Regions from separate parts of the Homo sapiens genome. Here region 2 is linked to region 1. Evidence: promoter capture Hi-C in 16 types of primary human blood cells and fetal thymus (Javierre and others, 2016). All regions are on one chromosome and are shown on one strand. Each heading gives the region's core, a stretch centred on a gene start or on the middle of the fragment in contact. The rest is flanking DNA. Distances are from core to core; before and after follow the strand shown.

Region 1 (5,544 bases), core at 2,948-5,447:
AGTAGCTGGGACTACAGGCACAAGCCACCACATCCAGCTAATTAACATTTTTTTTTTGTAGAGACAAGGTCTCACTATGTTGCCCAGGCTGGTCTGGAATTCCTAGGCGCGAACAATCTTCCTCTGTCTCTCAAAGTGCTGGGACTATAAGCATGAGCCACCATGCTTGGCCCAAAAAAGTTTCACAGAGATTAATTTGGGAGAAGGAACTGGGGACTAACAGGAGGGAGATTTTTCATGTCATGTCTTTTAAAAACATCTATTTTCTTGCCATATACAGCACTGCCCTTCCTCCAGTTGACATCAAGAACAGCCTGACTGTTATTTCCCTCTGCACGCTTCTGCTCTTCCCCATTCCCATCCTCTGAGTTGGGCATACTTTCCAGAAACAGGCCAGCATATTTTTGCAGACTGGCCAGAAGAGATCAACTATTTAGGCTTTCAATATACTTACTTCACAACAGTCTCAATTATTTTGAGTAACTGTAAAACTGTCAAAGGCTGAAAAATGGGTTTGTGTTAGGTCTCAGAGACCTGGAAAAATCTCATCTTCAGAAAAGGCTTTCACATGATAACTTCCAAACTTACCAGGTTAGCATTGTGTTTTCATAATGTCTGAACACAAATAACTACGTCATCAAACCTCAGTGCTACAGCACTCCTTATGTGTTCAAAAAGGGAGAATCACATTCATGCAACAGCATCCTCACTGTAAGCCATTACCTGTGACCAGGTAGTTCATGATGAGGCGGTTCATGTCTGCTCTCTGGACATGCAAGTTATTGAGCTTTTCCATCCACTCATCTTTCGTGATTTCATCGGGTTTTTCTGCATAACTCATTCTGATTTATTTCTACAGGAAAAAAATAACAGCTGAGGGAGGGGTTTAGATGCTCCTCCAAGGGCAGAGGGCAGCGCTGGAAGAGCTGTGAGCCGGAGAATCCCACACTGAGCATGTACGGAAAGACAACGCTGCCGTGGGACACCCACCAGACTGAGAATGCCAATGCTTAGCAAAGAATAAGTTCACTTCAACTTTTTCTACTCTGGTATCAGGAGAACGGACTGTGCTACAAAAACAATCTGGTACTCCTTACAAAGCTGAACATGTGTGCTCCTCACAACCCAGCAATTCTACTTTTAATACATTTATATTCTAGAAAAACTCACCAGGATGCACCAAACACAGACAACGCTGTTCACAGAAGCACCGTTCAAAGCGGCAGGAATGTGGAAGCCACCCACCTGAGCGTTCATTCAACAGCAGCGTGGACCAAGGGACTGTGGCGCACAGAACTGCATGTTTAAAACCCTTGGGCAGATGGGTTTTGGAATTCAGAATTCTTCAATGTACAACGATTATTTGGCACAATTTACCATGTAACAGCCTCACTGGGGTTTGGGGGCACTCCCCATCATCAGACGTTATTTCTTCACTGAAATGTGTTAGGTATCTATACTAAGTGGTAGAGGCTATTAAACTTTACCTGGTGAGGTTTTGGCCACCAAATAGGTTAAAAACAAAACCAAAAACTGTGGTTTCAGAGATGTTTAGATTTTTAGCATTGCTGAGAAGGGACTGTGGTCATGTATTCACACAAGAGAATTTCATAAAGCAGTTAAAATAAATGAACATGACACAAAGTCACCTGGATGACTCTCATAAAACAATGCTGAATGAAAAAAGAGAGTTGCGGCCGGGCGCGGTGGCTCACGCCTGTAATCCCAGCACTTTGGGAGGCCGAGGCGGGCGGATCACAAGGTCAGGAGATCCAGACCATCCTGGCTAACACGGTGAAACCCCGTCTCTACTAAAAATACAAAAAATTAGCCGTGCTCGGTGGCGGGCGCCTGTAGTCCCAGCTACTCCAGAGGCTGAGGCAGGAGAATGGCGTGAACCCGGGAGGCGGAGATTGCAGTGAGCCGAGATCATGCCACTGCACTCCAGCCTGGGCGACAGAACAAGACTCCGTCTCAAAAAAAAAAAAAAAATTTGCCGGGCATGGTGGCAGATGCCTGTAATCCCAGCTACTCGGGAGGCTGAGGTAGGAGAATGGCGTGAACCCGGGAGGTGGAGCTTCTAGTGAGCCGAGATGGTGCCACTGCACTCCAGCCTGGGCGACAGAGCGAGACTCCGTCTCAAAAAAAAAAAAAAAGAAAAAAAAGAAAAGAAAAAGAGAGTTGCAGGAGAGGCCAAATCTGCCGTGAGTTTTATCAGGAACAACAAGACAAAATACATGACATGTGCTTTAGCAACAAATATGTACGTGGCAAACCTATTTTGTTTGTTTTTTTTTAAATAAGGGCATGAAAGCTGACACTCAGGAGGGGGTTACCTGTGGGAGGGGCAAATGGCTGAAGCCCCAGAGGCAGCTGTTCCGGCTTTGGGAGAATGGGTGGATACCTGAGACAGGCAGGGGCACGCCACCGTCCACTCTGTCTTTCTCTTTTGCCACTGATACATACGTTACACATACTACTTTATACGAAGTACTGCTAAAGTGTTTCAATAAATTAAAAAACTTTGGTCTCTTGGCTGAAAATGGGATGAATGCAGGGTGGTGAGATCTGAGCAGCCAGTCCCTTAGGGAGACACCCAAGCGAGAGAGAACATCGGCAGAAGAGATGGAGAGCAAGGTGAGATCAAGATGCTTTGGCCAGAGTCAATGGCTGCTGCTAGACAGATTACCGGACAAAAGAGAGGGAAGAATAGAAGATGGTCACAGGTTTCAAGCATGAGAGGCCCTGCAAGATGGGGCCACAAATAAGGAGGAAGGACTGGAAGAAGAACAGGTTTGAGAAGCAGGGCAAGTTTGACGTGACTATTAGACATGCGTCTGGAGAAATCAAGCAGGTGTCTGAATTACAGATCCTGAGCTCAGAGCTGAAAACATGAATTAGTGAAATAAGGGGCGGGGGGGGCGGTGCTGGGGCACAGGGATATTTAAAGCCAAGAATTCAGCAAAGACCATAGGAAGAGCGTAGATAGGGAATGAGAATCGCCATTACTTGGAGGATGCCAACCTTGAAGGTAAAGCAGAGAAAGTGGCACCAGCAGAAGAAAACTTGATGTGGAGCGGCAGGTAAAGTGGAGGAGAAACCAGGAGTCGCTGTCACACACGAACACCCATCTTTCGTTGTCAACTGCAAAACTCACTGAGACCAACTTTTTATTCACGACAATTAATGGTAACTTAAGGACTCATTTTCTTTTTCTTTTTTTTTTGAGACAGAGCCTCGCTCTGTCGCCCAGGCTGGAGGGCAGTGGCGCGATCATGGCTCACCGCAGCCTCGACCTCCTGGGCTCAAGCGATCCTCCCACCTCAGCCTCCAGAGTAACTGGGACAACAGGAGCGCACCACTCTGCCTGGCTAATTTTTTTATTTTTAGCAGAGAAGGGAGTCTCGCTGTTGCCACGGCTGGTCTCGAACTCGCGGGCTCAAGTGATCCGCCCACTTCGACCTCCGCCACCGCGCCCGGCCCTAGGACCAACGTTAAGAGCTCCCTAGGAAAAGGCACCTTTTCTCTCGGCCCATTCGGTGATCGGCACTCACAGCGCTTCCACTCCGGGCAGTTACGTGCGCCCATGAAAAGCAACAACTTTGTAGAACTGGCCAGTCCTGTTAGCAGGAAGAACTCGGTAGTCTCAAACTCCAGCATAAAAAGATTCAGCAGAAGAAAACACCCGTGTGCTGAAGACTCCTACTTTCCATGCCACACTTTACATCCTCACCCGCTCGGTTTCTGCTTTAAAGCAGCAGATTTTATTAAAAAGACTTCGTTACGGACGTCGCTCCTCCACAGAGACAGCTACCGCCGCCCCTCAGGCTGGCCGGGACCGCCCCAGAACACCAGCGCCTGAGGCCGCGCGCCTGGAGGCTGAGCCCTGACTGCCCCCTGGGCACCGGCGCGGGGCGGCCGTCCGGGCCTGGACTCACTGCGCGCCCCAATTCCGCACCTGCCAGCGCCGGCGCTTCCAAGGCCCCCAGAGCGGGGGCGGCGCGCACCCCGGCCACATCCCGCCTGCCCGCCCGGCCCGGCCCCGGGAGACGCTCGGCCCGGCCGCCCGGGCCCGCCGCCGCCATCTTACCGTGCGGAACCTGCCTCCCGCGCTGCGCGGTCTGGGCGGCTGCGGCTCCGCAGCCTCTCCTGGGCTGGGGAGAGGTGGCGGCCGCCGGGGCGCCCGAGTAGAAGGAGGCAGAGGTGGGGGCCGCGGCGGAGGCGGGGGCGGGGGCGGGGGCGGGGAGCGGGAGGGCAGGCGCACCGGAGGCCGCCCCTCAGCACCTCTCGCGACAGCAAGAGAGCGCGAGAGCGCGAGCCGATGACCAATGAAGCGCCCCCGCGAGGGGGCGGGGCGGACGGCCTCCCGGAAGCGCGGAACCTCAGCTTCCGTACTTGCGCAGAACTCCCCTCGCGGCGACCACGCACTACGGGTTGGCGCCAGAGTCAAAAGGCGTCGGCCCTCTGGCAAGATGGCTGCTGCGGAGGCGTTGGAGCGCGGAAATCTGGAACCGGGATGGCGACGTCTACACTGAGTCGGAGGCGAAGGTCCCAGCTTTTTTCCTGTCGTTTGCGTGAGGCCGCACGGGGTGGGGCGGGGGAAAGGCGCCGGGTGTCCGCGGCCGCCCCTCAGACGGGGAGGGAGTCCCCTCCCGACCGGCGGCCTTCCAGGGCTAGTGTCCCTGAGGTCCAGGGAGAGACGGCTGACCCGAGACCGGGCTGGGCGAGAGCTGTGCTGTCTGCGCGTTGAAGCGAGTTCCCCCGCTTTACTCGAGATGTTGTTGAGCGCGTCCTCACTCGAGGCCAGGTGGGGAATCAGAAGGGCCCTGCCCTCAGGGCGCCTCCCATGGGCTACGCCGAAGGGCGGGACGCGGCCAGGGCGCGCGGGACAAAGGAGACCCCACTTGCTTGCGGGGCGGAGTCCCGGCGGCGGCGCGGGGCAGGGCCGGGGTTACTCGGTGACTGGAGACCCTCCCGGCAGGAGCGCGGGTTGAGGCCGCACTTGGGTATTTGCGCGTTTACTTGCTTATTGCCTGTCCGCTCAGGAGGAATGCGAAGTCTGTCATTGCAGGGTCCCATGTTTCCGTTGCTGGGAAGTACCTTAAAATATTTGATAGAGCCGAAGGAAGAAATAGAGTCCTTGAGGGGCAGCTCCTGATTTCATCTGTGAGGAATTCACGGGACGGCTTCTTTCTGAAGTCAGGGGTGAGGTGGTTTCGTGTGTTTGCTTACAAGCGAGCTGAACAACGTGTAAGCTATGTCGGTCGGTCTACTCAGCGACAGTAAGTCCAGTTCGGCAAATAGGTTGGAGGAGACTGATTTTGGACATTTTCCGTTAATCGAAAGAGCTAAATCTGCAGGTATAAGGTCTTGACAAAATTATGCTTCATATGCAGAGGCAGTACATGCCAGTAATTTTTTCATTTGCAACTACATAACCCTATGGGAAACAGTTATTGGTCTTTATTTAGTTATTTATTTTGAGACGAAGTCTCACTCTCGCCCAGGCTGGAGCGCAGTGGCGCCATCTCGGCTCACTGCAAC
Region 2 (5,809 bases), core at 3,042-5,541, 690 kb after region 1:
CCGAGGTGGGCGGATCACAAGGTCAGGAGTTCGAGACCAGCCTGGCCAATATGGTGAAACTCCATCTCTACTAAAAATACAAAAATTAGCCGGACATGGTGGCAGGTGCCTGTAGTCCCAGCTACTAGGGAGGCTGAGGCAGGAGAATAGCTTGAACCTGAGGAGGAGATTGCAGTGAGCTGAGATTGCACCACTGCACTCCAGCCTGGGCGACAGAGCGAGACTCCAGCTCAAAAAAAAAAAAAAAGAAAGAAAGAAAGGACCCTAAGGACCCCATCCAACACTACTTCCATTTGAAAGAATGCTCCTCCTCCTGCCTCCTCCTGCCTCCTCCTGACAGGTCAAAGAATGCTCCTCCTCCTGACAGGTCAAAGCCACTGGCAGAGACTTTCAAACTCATTCCCGTAGGGATCACACTGCGGTCAGGCATGGCCGGGGAGCTACAGTCCCTCAGTCCCCGCGGTCCCGCTGAGCTTCGCAGGGAGGCAGCTGCGGCGTGGGGGCAGCAATCATAAGCCAAGGTGCCAGGGCAGTCACAGGGAATGGGTTCCACAGGCCTGGTTCTGCTCCACAAGAGGCCACATCCAGCACAACCACAGAGCAAGCGACCCCAGAGGACCCACAGGAAGATCTTCAGTGCCTAAGCCAAGAGGCAAGCTCAGCCATCCCTGCACTCACTCAAGCCGACGTGCACATCAAACCAGCTTCCAGGGCCAAGCGAAGTTCCCGGTGCAGCATCGTGCACTGAAGAGCACCTGCCATCCGCTCAAGGTCAAGGCTAACACGTGAGCCCAACCACAGTGCAGAGCAGAACTAGGTCAGGCTGGGGCCGGCCAAGGAGCAAACCAAAGCCACTGTCACATCCCTGCAGGACTTCTCCTTCCCCAGAGCAGTCGGCGACCTGGCAGGGCCTAACCTGGCCACTCAAATGCTTGGAAAGATGCCACCATGACACTGCGAGGTTGCCAGAGCACCAGGAAGGGAAACAAGTGTCACCTACGAGCATCAGAGTCACAAAGTTTAAGGACAGAATTAGCTCTCTGTGGAAATTAAAGAACAGAAAGGTCTCCCGGATCAAGGCTGGAGGATGGGAACATGAAATCATGGACAGCAAGACAAAGCCTGCTGTGACATGAACGGACCCAGGGAGAACCTGGTGTGAGATGCCTGCACCTCCGTGTGGCACTGAGGGGGAGGGGCAGGGGCTGAGGGACAGGGGCGCAGCTCTCTTCACCCAGCACCTTCTAAGCCCTGGGGCAGGAGTGACCAGTCAGGGCCTCTCTGACACCTCATCCCTCCCTGCGTGTCCAAGCCTAGCGTGGGCAATGCTTCTCAGCTAGCATTTCAGCCTTGACACATCCACTTTGCAAACTCAGCCCATGCATCACCCGGACGCCTAGAAGCCCTCACCCCACTGACACCCAGCTGGCCACCAGGCCACAATCTCGTTTCTTTTGCAAAAAAACAAAACTTAACTAAAACAAAGACTCAACATTTCACAGCTTCAGAGCTGAGCTTAGACTCTCCCATGGCACTGGAAATGTCATCTGTCCAGTGTCGTCCCTATGGGCCACAGGTGGCTACAAGCACTTGAAACGTGAGGGAGAACTGAATGCTGGATGCTAATCAGCTGAATTGACTTCACTTCAACAGCCACCCACGGCAGTGGCGCCCATCCTGGACACAGCGTCCCGGGGCCCCATGGGGCTGAGCCATCATGGGACCATGCCCTGCCTGTGACCAGCCCCACCAGAGGGTGGAGGAAGATGGAGGCGGCGGCAGCAGCGAGAGCAGAGGGCTTTGCCAGCCCCAGGCGCAGGTCCAGGCCTCTGCGAGGAGACGCGGGAATGGCAGCCGGCCCCGCGCCACAGCTACCTCTCAAACACCAACCCCACAACGATGGAGGGCCGTCAAGGACACCGCCAGGCCAGGCCCCATTCCTCCTTCCCAGACCTCCCTGGATTGCTCCGTCTGTGCTCACTGAAACACGCCTTCTGCCAATTGTCGAGGAAAAAAATCAAGCCTTAATATTCCTGTCATTGTAAAAGCTTAACGGTTATTTTTACAGATTTTGTATAAATTTAGAACCAAATAAACAAGTCATATGCCATTCACAACAATGACCTTTTTTAACAAGGGGTATGTGCACGGCTGTCTGTCCTCGTCACCATCTGCAGCCCGTCACGAGTGAGGCACGTACGACTGGCCGCTCAGGCCTTTGCCCTTAAATGCACTGTGTTTTGGTGGCAATGGGATGGAATCAAGAGTGACCTTTATTGAACACTGGTTCTTGATCCTTTAGCCAAATAAGGTTAAGTCCAACTGCATCAGAAGCTCCAGGAGACAGCCCTTCTGAGCACAGAACCAGCTGGCTCTAGGTCTGCGCTTTTTAACCTGAACAACCTCTCCGCCTTCTTCAGGCCTGTATGGTTCTTCTTAGCGTGGGGCTCTACGTGGCTCATCACAAACCAGCTCCCTAACACCACACAGAATGTAACACGCCTTAGCTGAAGAACAGGTTTCAGGCCGGGCGCGGTGGCTCACGCCTGTCATCCCAGCACTTTGGGAGGCCACGGCAGGCAGATCACTTGAGGTCAGGAGCTCAAGACCAGCTGGGCAACATGGCAAAACCCCATCTCTACTAAAAATACAAAAAAATTACAGGTGGCACATGCCTGTAGTCCCAGCTACTCAGAAGGCTGAGGCACAAGAATCACTTGAACCCATGAGGCGGAGGTTGCAGTGAGCCGAGATCGCGCCACTGCACTTCAGCCTGGGCGACAGAGGCAAGACACCGTCTCAAAAAAAAAAAAAAAGAACAGATTTCAGCCCTTTATCCTAAGACACCAGCGTGGACACACGAATGGCTCAACCCTGACTCGGGAAGGCCCTGTGCTACGCGTGCCAGCCAGGCAAACTTGCCAGGTGCACATGAGGACTCTGCATCAGTCCAGAATTCACGCAGGAAGTTTCTACACTGAGAAAGGCAGGTGAACCTCTCCCACTGTGCAGACAGCAGCACCCCCACTGTTTACCATTCTCCATGCCAAGAGGGTGACCTTGAGAGGCAGGCAAAGGTGAGCCCGGCTTGGTCCCAAGAAGCAGCTGTGGGGAGTGGCAAACCTTCCCACTGGGCCTCGCGGCCAGTGTGGCCCGACGTCCCGGAAGCGGAGCCTAGCGCCCCACTCACCACAGTCAACTCCCTCAAGTCTTGTCGCTGACTTAACTGCTTCCTGTGGAATATTAATTGCCAAAAATACACCACGCACCTCGAGGAACATTACCTTGTAATGCAGTACGATGTATTTCCAAACACACAAGATGAATGCAAGCGCTTCCGTACAAAAACATGTGTTTTAATCAACCTTCTCCTTATGCAACACAATAAAAAGCTGTTCCAATGCGGCCCACGAGACTGGGTGGGAAGGCAATGGACAGGGCGCATGCCCCACAGCTCACGGGCGCCCTGCTCTCAGAAAGCCATGCCGGAGGGCAGGGAGAGCACTCCAAGGGCAGCAGCAGTCCAGCCAGCCCCCGACCCGCCGCCGCTGTGTATCTCTGATGATCAAAACCAACGGCCCCGAGAGGAGCCCAGCCTGCGGCTGCAGCTAGAGGAGAAGGAGACACCTTGTACCCACATCTCACAACCCAGCAAGGGCCACAGCAGGCGGAGGACGCGGTGAGGGAGTGGGAGGAAAATTAAGACAGCAAAGGGAAGTGAGTGACCCAGGTGAGAGGCTGTTGTCCTGCAGGGCTCCCGGCCTTCCCCAGGGCACCTGCCCAGCCAAGGAGTGGCTGGCTTGCTGGAGTGCGTCCTTGCCCTCTGGCCGCCTCCTTCTCTGTGGCCTCAGCTCCAGGCCCTCCTCACCATCGTGCCCATCTTCATCCTGTGCAGCCCTAATGGGGTCCACTGTGCTGAGAAACCTGTCACCCTAACATCAGACCTGCCCACGTGGCTGCCAACTGTGCTTCCTGAGCACCTACAGGCAGGGCTTCAAACCAAGGTCAGGGAAAACCACCAATCTCTAACCCCCCTACCCTCTGCAAAAAAAATTTTTTTTTAATTAAAAAATTTAAAAAAACAGGAAAAAAAATTTTTCGTTCATTTTTTTCCCCAGAATAATGACCCACATTATTCATATTCATGAAGTTCTCAAAGGGGTCCTTGATCTAAAAAAGGGTCCTGACCCCACCGTGGGCCTCCAGCACTTGGACTCCCCGCTGAGGACCCACCCCAGACCCTCCCGAGCTTGTTAAACACATCTCTTCCTGGGCCCCTCCCGGGAAACCCAGGCTCAGTGAAGCTGGGGCTGGGCCTTGAACCCACACTTTTTAAAAAGTTCCCCCAGCTTTTCTGATGAGAAGCAGGGGTGAAAACTCCATGATGTTAACCCAGGAGCCTTCTACCCTGACAGCCGAGCCACTGAAGAGGCGGAGCTGCCGGGCAGGCGCTGCGGGGCAGGCGCTGCGGGGCAGGGGCTGCGGGGCAGGCGCTAGGGCTCCTCGGGCACCTCTGCACTGGGACCCCTCCCCTGGCCCCAGCTCAGGCACTGCCCTGGCTCTGCTTCCGCTCAGGTGTTCCAGCATTTCCCACAGGTGAGACTTACTTGGAAGACGGGTGATGATTACAGCGAGACTCCCAGCTCTGCTACATCATCAAGAGAGGCCAAGCCAGAGCCAGGGCACTCGCAGGAGCTCGCCACCACAGACGCAGCCCGTGTCCTCTTTCACAGTAAGAGGGTAGCCCCACGCCCTGTGCGCACCTGACACCTGCCGTCATTATCGGAGTCACCGAAATGTCACTGAATCACAGTCCCCCTAGTTTTAAGGCAATAATGGAAGTTGCTCTCTGGCCGAGCACAGTGGCACAAGGTCCCAGGTTACAGGGGGCTCTTTCTCACGATCAGCCTTGGATCAGCCTTAGGTTTATTCAGTACAAAGCACAGGCACTCACTTCCACACCATAGTCCTCCTTCCTCTACAGCTGCCTCCGTCTTTTCTGGAACCAAAACTCCACACAACTCCCTACACACTACAGTCCTCCCTGCCTGGTGCTCCTCCAAGAACTCCCCGTATGAGCCCACAACAGGCGCTCTCTGGGCACCCCTGAAGGTTGCAGTCCCAGCGCCTTTGATAAAGAAATGTGCTCAGTGTCTGCTCAGCCAAGAGCCCCTCAGACCCTTCCCACCCCTGACTTGCCTCAGCGTCGGGGCCACAGCCCCCAGGCCCTCAGTGCGCAGGTGAGAAGTACACACCTTACACCCAGGAGAGAGGCCTGATGACCGCCACAAGCCCTGAGGGTGCGGGAACCTCTTCAGGCCCCAAACTATGGAGCCAGCCACTAGCTCAACAGGACTGATCCCAGAGTTTGTTTCTCAAAATACATCAAGCGAGTGTTCCACTGAAAACAGAAGGCAAGCAAAGAGAAACAGCCACAAACATCAGGCACGAGTCTCAGATCCAGTCCCTTATAAAAGCTCACTTCCACCACTCAGCTCAACTCAGAGGTCACAGGATTTGCATCAGCAGAAGCTCCAGCGGAAAGAATGTGGATGCTGTGACATTCTGCTGAATGATCCCAAGTTCTTTTCTGAATCTGGAAGGAAAAGGAAAGAAGTGCCAAAAAGTTCACGCAAACAGTGCTGTGAGCTATTTAACAGATGCTTTTATTATCAAGAGCTGCAGAGGTGGGCCGGGACACCACCACGCTTCCACAGTGGGACCCTAGCCCAAACCAGCAGCCTGAGAGGCCGGGACACCATGCCTGAAACTCACTAGCAAGAACACTCTGAAAAAGCAAAAATGACAG

The links. The method cuts DNA at HindIII sites, captures the fragments that hold promoters and counts their contacts. A CHiCAGO score of 5 or more calls a contact.
Region 2: a contact is called between a fragment that was not itself captured here and the fragment with the promoter of GID8 in region 1, in 1 of 17 cell types (neutrophils). The highest score is 6.5, in neutrophils.

The regions. Positions count from the first base shown.
Region 1 is chr20:62,936,800-62,942,343 of GRCh38, reverse strand. It overlaps GID8 (GID complex subunit 8 homolog), which reads right to left and starts at 4,197. Exons shown (of 5, transcript NM_017896.3): 1 at 4,091-4,197; 2 at 724-853. The coding sequence starts at 841. It also overlaps a transcript of DIDO1 not described here. RefSeq lists silencers at 3,827-3,956, 4,027-4,256, 4,627-4,676, 4,947-4,996 and an enhancer at 3,463-4,131. The HindIII fragment of the contact is 7,388 bases long and covers 1-5,544 here.
Region 2 is chr20:62,242,108-62,247,916 of GRCh38, reverse strand. The region is part of intron 1 of OSBPL2 (oxysterol binding protein like 2); the gene reads right to left. Among named protein-coding and RNA genes, the nearest start is that of OSBPL2, 6.5 kb to the right of the region's middle. RefSeq lists enhancers at 2,908-3,515, 3,516-4,124. The HindIII fragment of the contact is 4,482 bases long and covers 2,051-5,809 here.